2 separate regions of the Homo sapiens genome follow, and region 1 is linked to region 2. The links are contacts of gene promoters, found by promoter capture Hi-C in blood cells and fetal thymus (Javierre and others, 2016). All regions are on one chromosome and are shown on one strand. The core of a region is centred on a gene start or on the middle of the fragment in contact, and the rest is flanking DNA. Distances in the headings are between cores, read along the strand shown. Region 1 holds the start of FADS1 (fatty acid desaturase 1). Region 2 holds the start of TMEM132A (transmembrane protein 132A).

Region 1 (3,408 bases), core at 275-2,774, 890 kb after region 2:
CTGGGACGCCAGGGTAGTGGATAGGGACAGTGGAGGGCATCACGCTGCAGGGCACGGGATCAGAGGGGGATGCAAGGGGAGGGGACGCCATTCTGGCCGCCAAGGGGGAAACGCGGTGAAGGGAACGCCCCGACTTTCGAGTCCCTAGGACTGAGTCCCCAGGACTCCAACCCAGCAGAGAGGCGCCGGGGCCTTAGCTCTGAGGGCTGTGGTCTAGAAAGGGAAGCAGCAGGCCTGGGGCTGGGGCGCGCGCCGACCCCGCAGTGAGACCAAGGGAAGAAGGGACAGGACCCCGCGAAGGGCCTACCGCCCCAGAGCGTAAACAGCGGTCCGCTCCGCGGAATAGCTGAAGACCTCGCTGGCCTGCGGCTCAGTGGCCTCCCCGGCGATTCGAGAACAGCTCTGGGGGTCCTCGCTAAGTGTATGCCATTCCCAATCCCTTATGTACGCCAGCGGCCGCTTGCCCTCCCCGGCCAGCGCTGTCCCTTCCGCGTCCTCCAGTCTTCACACGACGCAGGGGTCCCCAAGGCAGCGGTCTCCCCAAGCTTCCCGTTTCAGCCCCATCCTCGAGAATGGGCTCCTTTCCTGCTCCCTCTCCGCTCCTGCTGGCGAGTGGAGACCGGCACCTAGGTCCAGACGCGGCTGCGCTGCCTCTCCTAGCCATCGAGACAGGATGTGACTCCCTCCCCTGGCCACTGACCCCCTCCCTCCCCAGGCGGCCTGCATCCTTGCTCTCCTCCCTCCTAGCCTACCCAGCTCGGGGTTCTGTCCCCGCCCAGAGACCTGAGGCTCGGGGCTGCAGATGGAATGCACGGCAGGGAGGCGGGACCCTTTGTTTGTGTGTGCGTGTTGTTGGCCTCCATCCCCACTCCCCAGACTCCACTTCTCCAGGCCTCTCTCCCGCCTTTTCATCCCGCATCCGCAGGACACCCAATCACCGGGCAACAGGTATGATCAGGCGCCTCCGGGCTTTCCTCCGAATTAGTCGGTGTTTGGCTCGGAGTGCGTAACTCTGTCTCCCCTGCACTCAGCCTCCGGTCCCGCCCTCTCCTGTGCCCCCGCCTGGCTGCGCTCACCGTGGCATCCTGCCCGGCGTAGTGGCTGATGACCCGGGAGCCCCCTGGATGCCGGCGGGTGAACTCGCTGATGTTGTACACCTTACGGTCGATCACTAGCCACCGCTCCTCGCACCCTGAGCGCTGGGCCACCTCGTCCCAGGTGAAGTAGCGCGGGGTAGGTCCCTGAGCCGCGGTCTCGGCGGCCACCGGGTCGGGGGCCATAGCTGGCCTGGCGACGCCGCGCGCCGGGCCAGCAGGGGCTGTCAGGCGCGTGCTCGGGGTCCGCGGGCTCCAGGAGTGGATTTGCTGGCGCGCGCCCAGAGCCAGCCGCCTGCGCGCCGGGTTTTCAGCACCGCAGGGCAGACCGGCGGGCCTCGCAGCGCGCGTTCCCATTGGCCGAGCCTCGTGGCGCGGGGAGCGAGATCCCGTCCCCCGGTGGGTCTTGGGCAACTCACAGCTGGGCTGCCAACACGCGCCCCCTCGCGGGCTCCCTAAAGGCGTCGCCGCCGGATTCGACTTCCTGACGTCAGGCGGGCATCGCGGCGTTGGCTCCCAGGGGGCGCCGCGGTAGGAACAGCGGTTCTAGTGCAGGCCCTGGGTGCGGGGCCGCGCTGCAGGAGTGAATGGACTGAGGGGCCAGGGCTGCGGGGTGGCCGCAGGAAGGGTGGGCGGGGCCGGGGTTGAGGTTTTTCCGTGCACGAGGCTGCCCGGGCGGTCGCGGACATCATCTTTAGGCTGTGGATGCCTTGGCCGGGGTCTCCAGACGCTGACCCTCCAGGGTTGGAAACTACTGCCTGCTTGCCACGTCGTGCCGCCAATTGTGCTGCCCGAAGTAGCAGCCTGAGAGCCCTTGAAAGTTGCAGTTATCTTGTGAACAGCATATTTACGGTCTCTTGGGCTTGGTGGTGGTTGGGGGAGGGCTGTTAATGCTTTAATTTGTTCAATGAAACATTTAAAATGCCCCACAATTTTTATAACCCTGTTTGCCTCTTTTTGTTTTTATTTTTATTGTATTTTGGAAAAATTCACTGGGATCCTTGAGTGATGATCCTAGCGTCTCCTGACCCTTAGGTGTTTCACCTGAAAAGCCTGGGTCTTCAAGCTGAGGCATTTCTGTTCTAGCCTGGAGGCGCCTAGGAGCCCTGGGAGACTTTTTAAGCAGAGAGATTTGGCATTTAGATCTCTGGGTTTTAGAGGAGTGGGAACGCACCTAAAAGTGGGGTTGCCAGTTACAAAGCTGTTGCAGTCCTGAAGAGACCCAGAGTTTAGGTCCAAAATTTTATTTATTCAACAAACACTTTATAAAGCACTTACTGTGTGCCAGGCACTGTTCTTAGCGTTTTGCAAACCTTAACTCATTTAATTCTCCTAACAACCCTATGAGGTTGGAACAATTAACCTAATTTACAGTGAAGAAACTGAGCCCGGGGGAGGTTATTTTGTCACACAGCTTGTAAGTGGAGGGCTGAGATTTGACCCTGGCCTGTGCTCTGAACTCTCAGGCTCTGCCATATTTCTCATTACACTGGTATTTGGGCACTTCAAAGGGAAAGGAAACATAACTGTCCCAAGCACTGAGCTAGATTCTGAGCACGTAGGAGTCAGGAGAGGGTGATACAGAATAGACTAGGTGAAATATGGCTAGATTTCTGGTAGAAAAGGATTAATTCATTCCATCCAAATTCTTCATTTTATAGATAAGAAAATTGAGGTTCGAAATGGGGAAGGGGCTTACCAAGTTCCCATAGGGAAGTTTAGATGTCCTGACTTCCAGGTAAGATGCCAGGCTATTGGACCCTGCTCAGGAATGATGGTCCACACAGCTGCACCTCTGTACAGCCAATATTCCTTTTTTAAAAACCTTGCCCAACAACTTGGCAGTGTCTAATGCGAGCTACAAAACATTTTCTATTCTTTGATCAAGCAGTTTCACTCTTGGTAAAGTAGGGGAGACTGTGCAAAGATGCAGAAATAGCCAATTTAATAGCAAAAACTGGAAATAAACCCGAGTCCTGACAATAAGAAAATCGCCAAGCTTATTGGGATCTGTTAACACAATGAAGAATTAAAGAATGATTTTAAATGGCTAGAATGTGAACTATATTGATAGATATAGAATCCTTCCCCGTGAAATAAGCAGAACCCAAAGTAGTATGGGTTCGCTGATTACAACTATATAAGAAATTCATGGGTATTAAATAACAGAAGAGAGGTCCTTTACATAAACCATTTTTCCTATGTGACTGTGCAGTGGGATAAAAGCTCTCATACTGCTGGTAGAAGTGTAAGTTGATTAAACTGGAAAAAATAGTTTGACAACTTATATAGAAATTTAAGATTTTTTTTTTTT
Region 2 (3,317 bases), core at 89-2,588:
AGCCCGGGAGGAACACAGGCAGCTCCTTTCCCTTCACGTGGTCTGCAGAGAGCAGGGTGAGCTGCCAGCTGCCCCTCTCCACCAGGGTACCCTGTCTTGGTGGTTAGGGGCCACTTTTCCTTTGAGGCTCTAGTGGAGGTGGATGTCCTTCTCTGCCAGGCTTGGCACATGATGTGAAGAATAAATGCCCAATTCTTACTGTTCAGGTTTGATGTGGAATCACAGCTGCAGTGATATATATTTTTTATCAGTGCTTGGTTGGTTTTAAATAAAGTGCACGCTATTTTATTATCTTGTTCTGAATAAAATGTATTTACTCCAAGTCTGGATTGCTTCCATGTCTCCTCTACTGCTAAACCCATTTCTGTAGTGCAGCTCCGCCTCCCAATTTCTCCCTGTGGGGGCAGTGTGAAGCTGGCAGAGGGGAGAGCTGAAAAGGCAGGCTGGTACCAGGTACCCTTCCCTCCAGGAGCACAAGGAATTAGGAAAGCATGCCCCCATTACAAAACGTAGGAACGACTGGCACTGCTGGAAATGCGTGTGCTTGCTGGGCAGAGGGGTCACCCCTTCCCTGCAGTGTGCTGAGGTGGGTGGGCAGCCTGGAGAAGACTTGCCTGCCCTCCCCTTCACCACCCACCTGAGGACTTTCCTGTGCCAAGGTTTCCAGTCGGCCCACAGGCTGGACCAATTTTGCGGAGGGCCTCAGACATAATTTTTTCTTTGTAAGCTGCCCAGGGCATGAGAGTGTGCAGCTGGGGCCCCTGCTCTGGGCCTCTCCCCAAACTGCCTGGTAGGCAACACTGGGTCAGGACCCTTGAGGCTGGCCTTCCCTCGGGAGTGTTGGGCAACCCTCAACCCTCCTAAGCGCTGCAGGACGCTGCCCAGGTGGAGCTGGTCAAGAGACTAGAGCTGCCTGCACCTAGAGCCCTTCCTCCACGGCGGTGGCCTAGCTCTGTCAGGGCAGGCTCAGGTGGTTGGCATCTGGCCCCGTTTGACCCCCTCCCTCCTTTCCTGTCCCTGCAGCTCCCGTCCCATGTGTCCCTGAATTCTGGTTCTGACTCAGGTGTCAGATGCCTTCACAAGTGAGCTGCTTGTGGGGGTGGGTGAGGCAGAGAAAGTGGCTTTTTCTTCCCTGATCAGAAGCTTCCGTGAGGGAGCCACACAGAACTCACCGAGTCCCTCCTGGCAGAGGCGGCCGTCCTCTGTTGCTTCCAGGGACGTGGCCCTCTTCCCGACCTCGGTCGCCTGAGCGCGCAGGGATTGGGGATCCGTAGGGCACTAGGACCCGGCGGGGCGGAGGGGGCAGCCCATGTGCTGCGATTCGCTCCCTCCCACCCCACTGCTCCCGCTCCATTGTCTGGGAATTGCAGCCGCGGGGCGGGCGGCGGCGGCGGCGGCGGCGGCCGGGACCCAGCGGGCCAGGTGGGGACGGCGCGGAGCGGGTGCGGGAGATGCCGTGCGGGACTGGGGCCACCTGAGCCGCCCGCCTCGTCCCCGCCTTCTGTGGGAAGGATGTGCGCGCGGATGGCCGGTCGCACAACAGCGGCCCCTCGGGGGCCCTACGGCCCCTGGCTCTGCCTCCTGGTGGCCCTCGCCCTGGACGTCGTGAGAGGTCAGCGGGAGGGGAGGGCCGGGGCGAGGGGCGGCCGGGCCCGGCCGAGTGGGAGCGAGTGATGCCCGGGAGCCACCAACCTTTGGGTTCTCGGACTGAACCCTGAGCGGGGTCGCCCCGCAGCGCCCTGAAGGTCGGAGAGTTCTTGCCCTCGGGAACCTGCCCCCAGCCACTCGCCCCTAAGGCTTCCTTCACCTTGCACGACCCGGCAACTCCTTCCTGACCCGGGGCAGCCCGGCGCAGGGGCTTCCCCGTCCCGCACCTTCTGCGAGGGACCCCTCAGCCCGGGCATCGAACCCGGCGGCCCCGGTCCCGGGCGCACTAGCGTCATCCCCACTCCCTCACTGTGGTCTGTAGCGCTGCACCCTCCTAGCCTCCTTCCGCCGCCACCAACCCACCCCCCTCGGGAGTGGAAAGCAGCCCCTTTGCCTGGGACCTGCAACAGACGCAAGCCCTCCCTCCCCCTTCCCCCAGGGCTCCCTGACCTTGGCGTCTCCAGGGATGGCCGCATCCTTGCCTTCCAGAACCTTTGAGAGGATTCCTGTCACTGCGGGAAAGGGCAGCAACTTCCCTGTGCTTCGGGGTGGGGGTCGGACTCCCTTGGCCTGGGCTAGCTGGGCTGTGGCTGCAAGGCAAAGGATGCCACAGAAGACAGAGGGACAGTGAAACATTCTCTGCCCTCCCCACCGAGAGAGCCGAGCGCTGGGTGATGGGAGTCCGTGGGAGTCAGGCTAAGAGCATCTTGTAATTATGGAGGCAATGGAGTAGGAGGCGAACCTGAAGCCAGTGGCTGCCCCCAGAGAGCAGTGGTCACTTGTTACGCTTGGGGCAGGGGGCAGGGAGAGCCTGTCAGTCATATGCTCCTTGGTGGGGAGGGCCAGGAAGGAGGTTGAAACCAATTCCCCCACCCCCACCCACAGTCCAGCTGTGGGGCTGAGAGGGAGCTAGCTGTGGGGTTGCTTTCAGCCACCTGCTCCCCATCCCGAGGGACGCCATGGGAGTCCTAATAGAGAGAGGAGGAAAACCTTGTCAAATCCATTATGCAGCAGCAATAATGCCTGCTCCCTCCAGACAGCACTCCACAGTTTACACAGCCCTGTCCTGTCCACAGTGCCACCTAATGCTCCTGCCCCTTTTACAAGTGAGGAAACAGGCTTCAAAATGTTAATGCCTGACCCAAGTTTCATCAATTTAAATTCAGGTCTCCAGGCTCCCAGGAAATCCTCTCTAGGGAGCGCTTCCTAGTTTGGGGGAATTCCAGGATGAGCAAGACAGGGTCCCTTGTTTATAGGAAGATTACTAATTCAGAGGAGGCACCCAGGGTTGCAAAAGACAGGAGACTGGTGGGAAGGTGAGTAACCAAGGAGGGCTTCCTTCAGAAGGAGGCAGTATTCACTCATGGCCCTGAATGAGGAGGGAGGTGCCACCGGGCAGAGCAGAGGAGAGGAGGTGCGCTCCAGGGCATGAAGCCTGCAGGGTGCACCGTGGCAGTGGAGAGTGGAGAGAGAAGTGGCAGGTGGAGACGCCGGATGGTCTAGTGGCTAATACCTGGGATCAACCCCCAGCTCCTTCACTCTCCAGCTGTGGAACCACAGGCAAATACCTTAACCTCTCGGCCTCATTTTCTACATCCACAAAATGGGATTCATCATAATAGAACCTGGTTCACAGAATTATTACAAAGACTCAAAGAGTTCATATACAT

What was found. The method cuts DNA at HindIII sites, captures the fragments that hold promoters and counts their contacts. A CHiCAGO score of 5 or more calls a contact.
Region 1: a contact is called between the fragment with the promoter of FADS1 here and the fragment with the promoter of TMEM132A in region 2, in 1 of 17 cell types (neutrophils). The highest score is 5.2, in neutrophils.

What each region holds. Positions count from the first base shown.
Region 1 is chr11:61,815,479-61,818,886 of GRCh38, forward strand. It overlaps FADS1 (fatty acid desaturase 1), which reads right to left and starts at 1,525. Exons shown (of 12, transcript NM_013402.7): 1 at 1,077-1,525. The coding sequence starts at 1,451. It overlaps LOC124902680 (a long non-coding RNA gene), which reads left to right and starts at 2,542. Exons shown (of 2, transcript XR_007062696.1): 1 at 2,542-3,408. It also overlaps a transcript of FADS2 not described here. RefSeq lists an enhancer at 1-726 and silencers at 1,247-1,446, 1,787-1,886. The HindIII fragment of the contact is 2,548 bases long and covers 544-3,091 here.
Region 2 is chr11:60,923,122-60,926,438 of GRCh38, forward strand. It overlaps TMEM132A (transmembrane protein 132A), which reads left to right and starts at 1,339. Exons shown (of 11, transcript NM_178031.3): 1 at 1,339-1,612. The coding sequence starts at 1,513. TMEM109 (transmembrane protein 109) reads left to right here. Exons shown (of 4, transcript NM_024092.3): 4 at 1-322. It overlaps LOC124902676 (a long non-coding RNA gene), which reads right to left and starts at 2,276. Exons shown (of 2, transcript XR_007062688.1): 1 at 2,098-2,276. RefSeq lists silencers at 1,235-1,594, 1,655-1,874, 1,915-1,984. The HindIII fragment of the contact is 2,439 bases long and covers 1,142-3,317 here.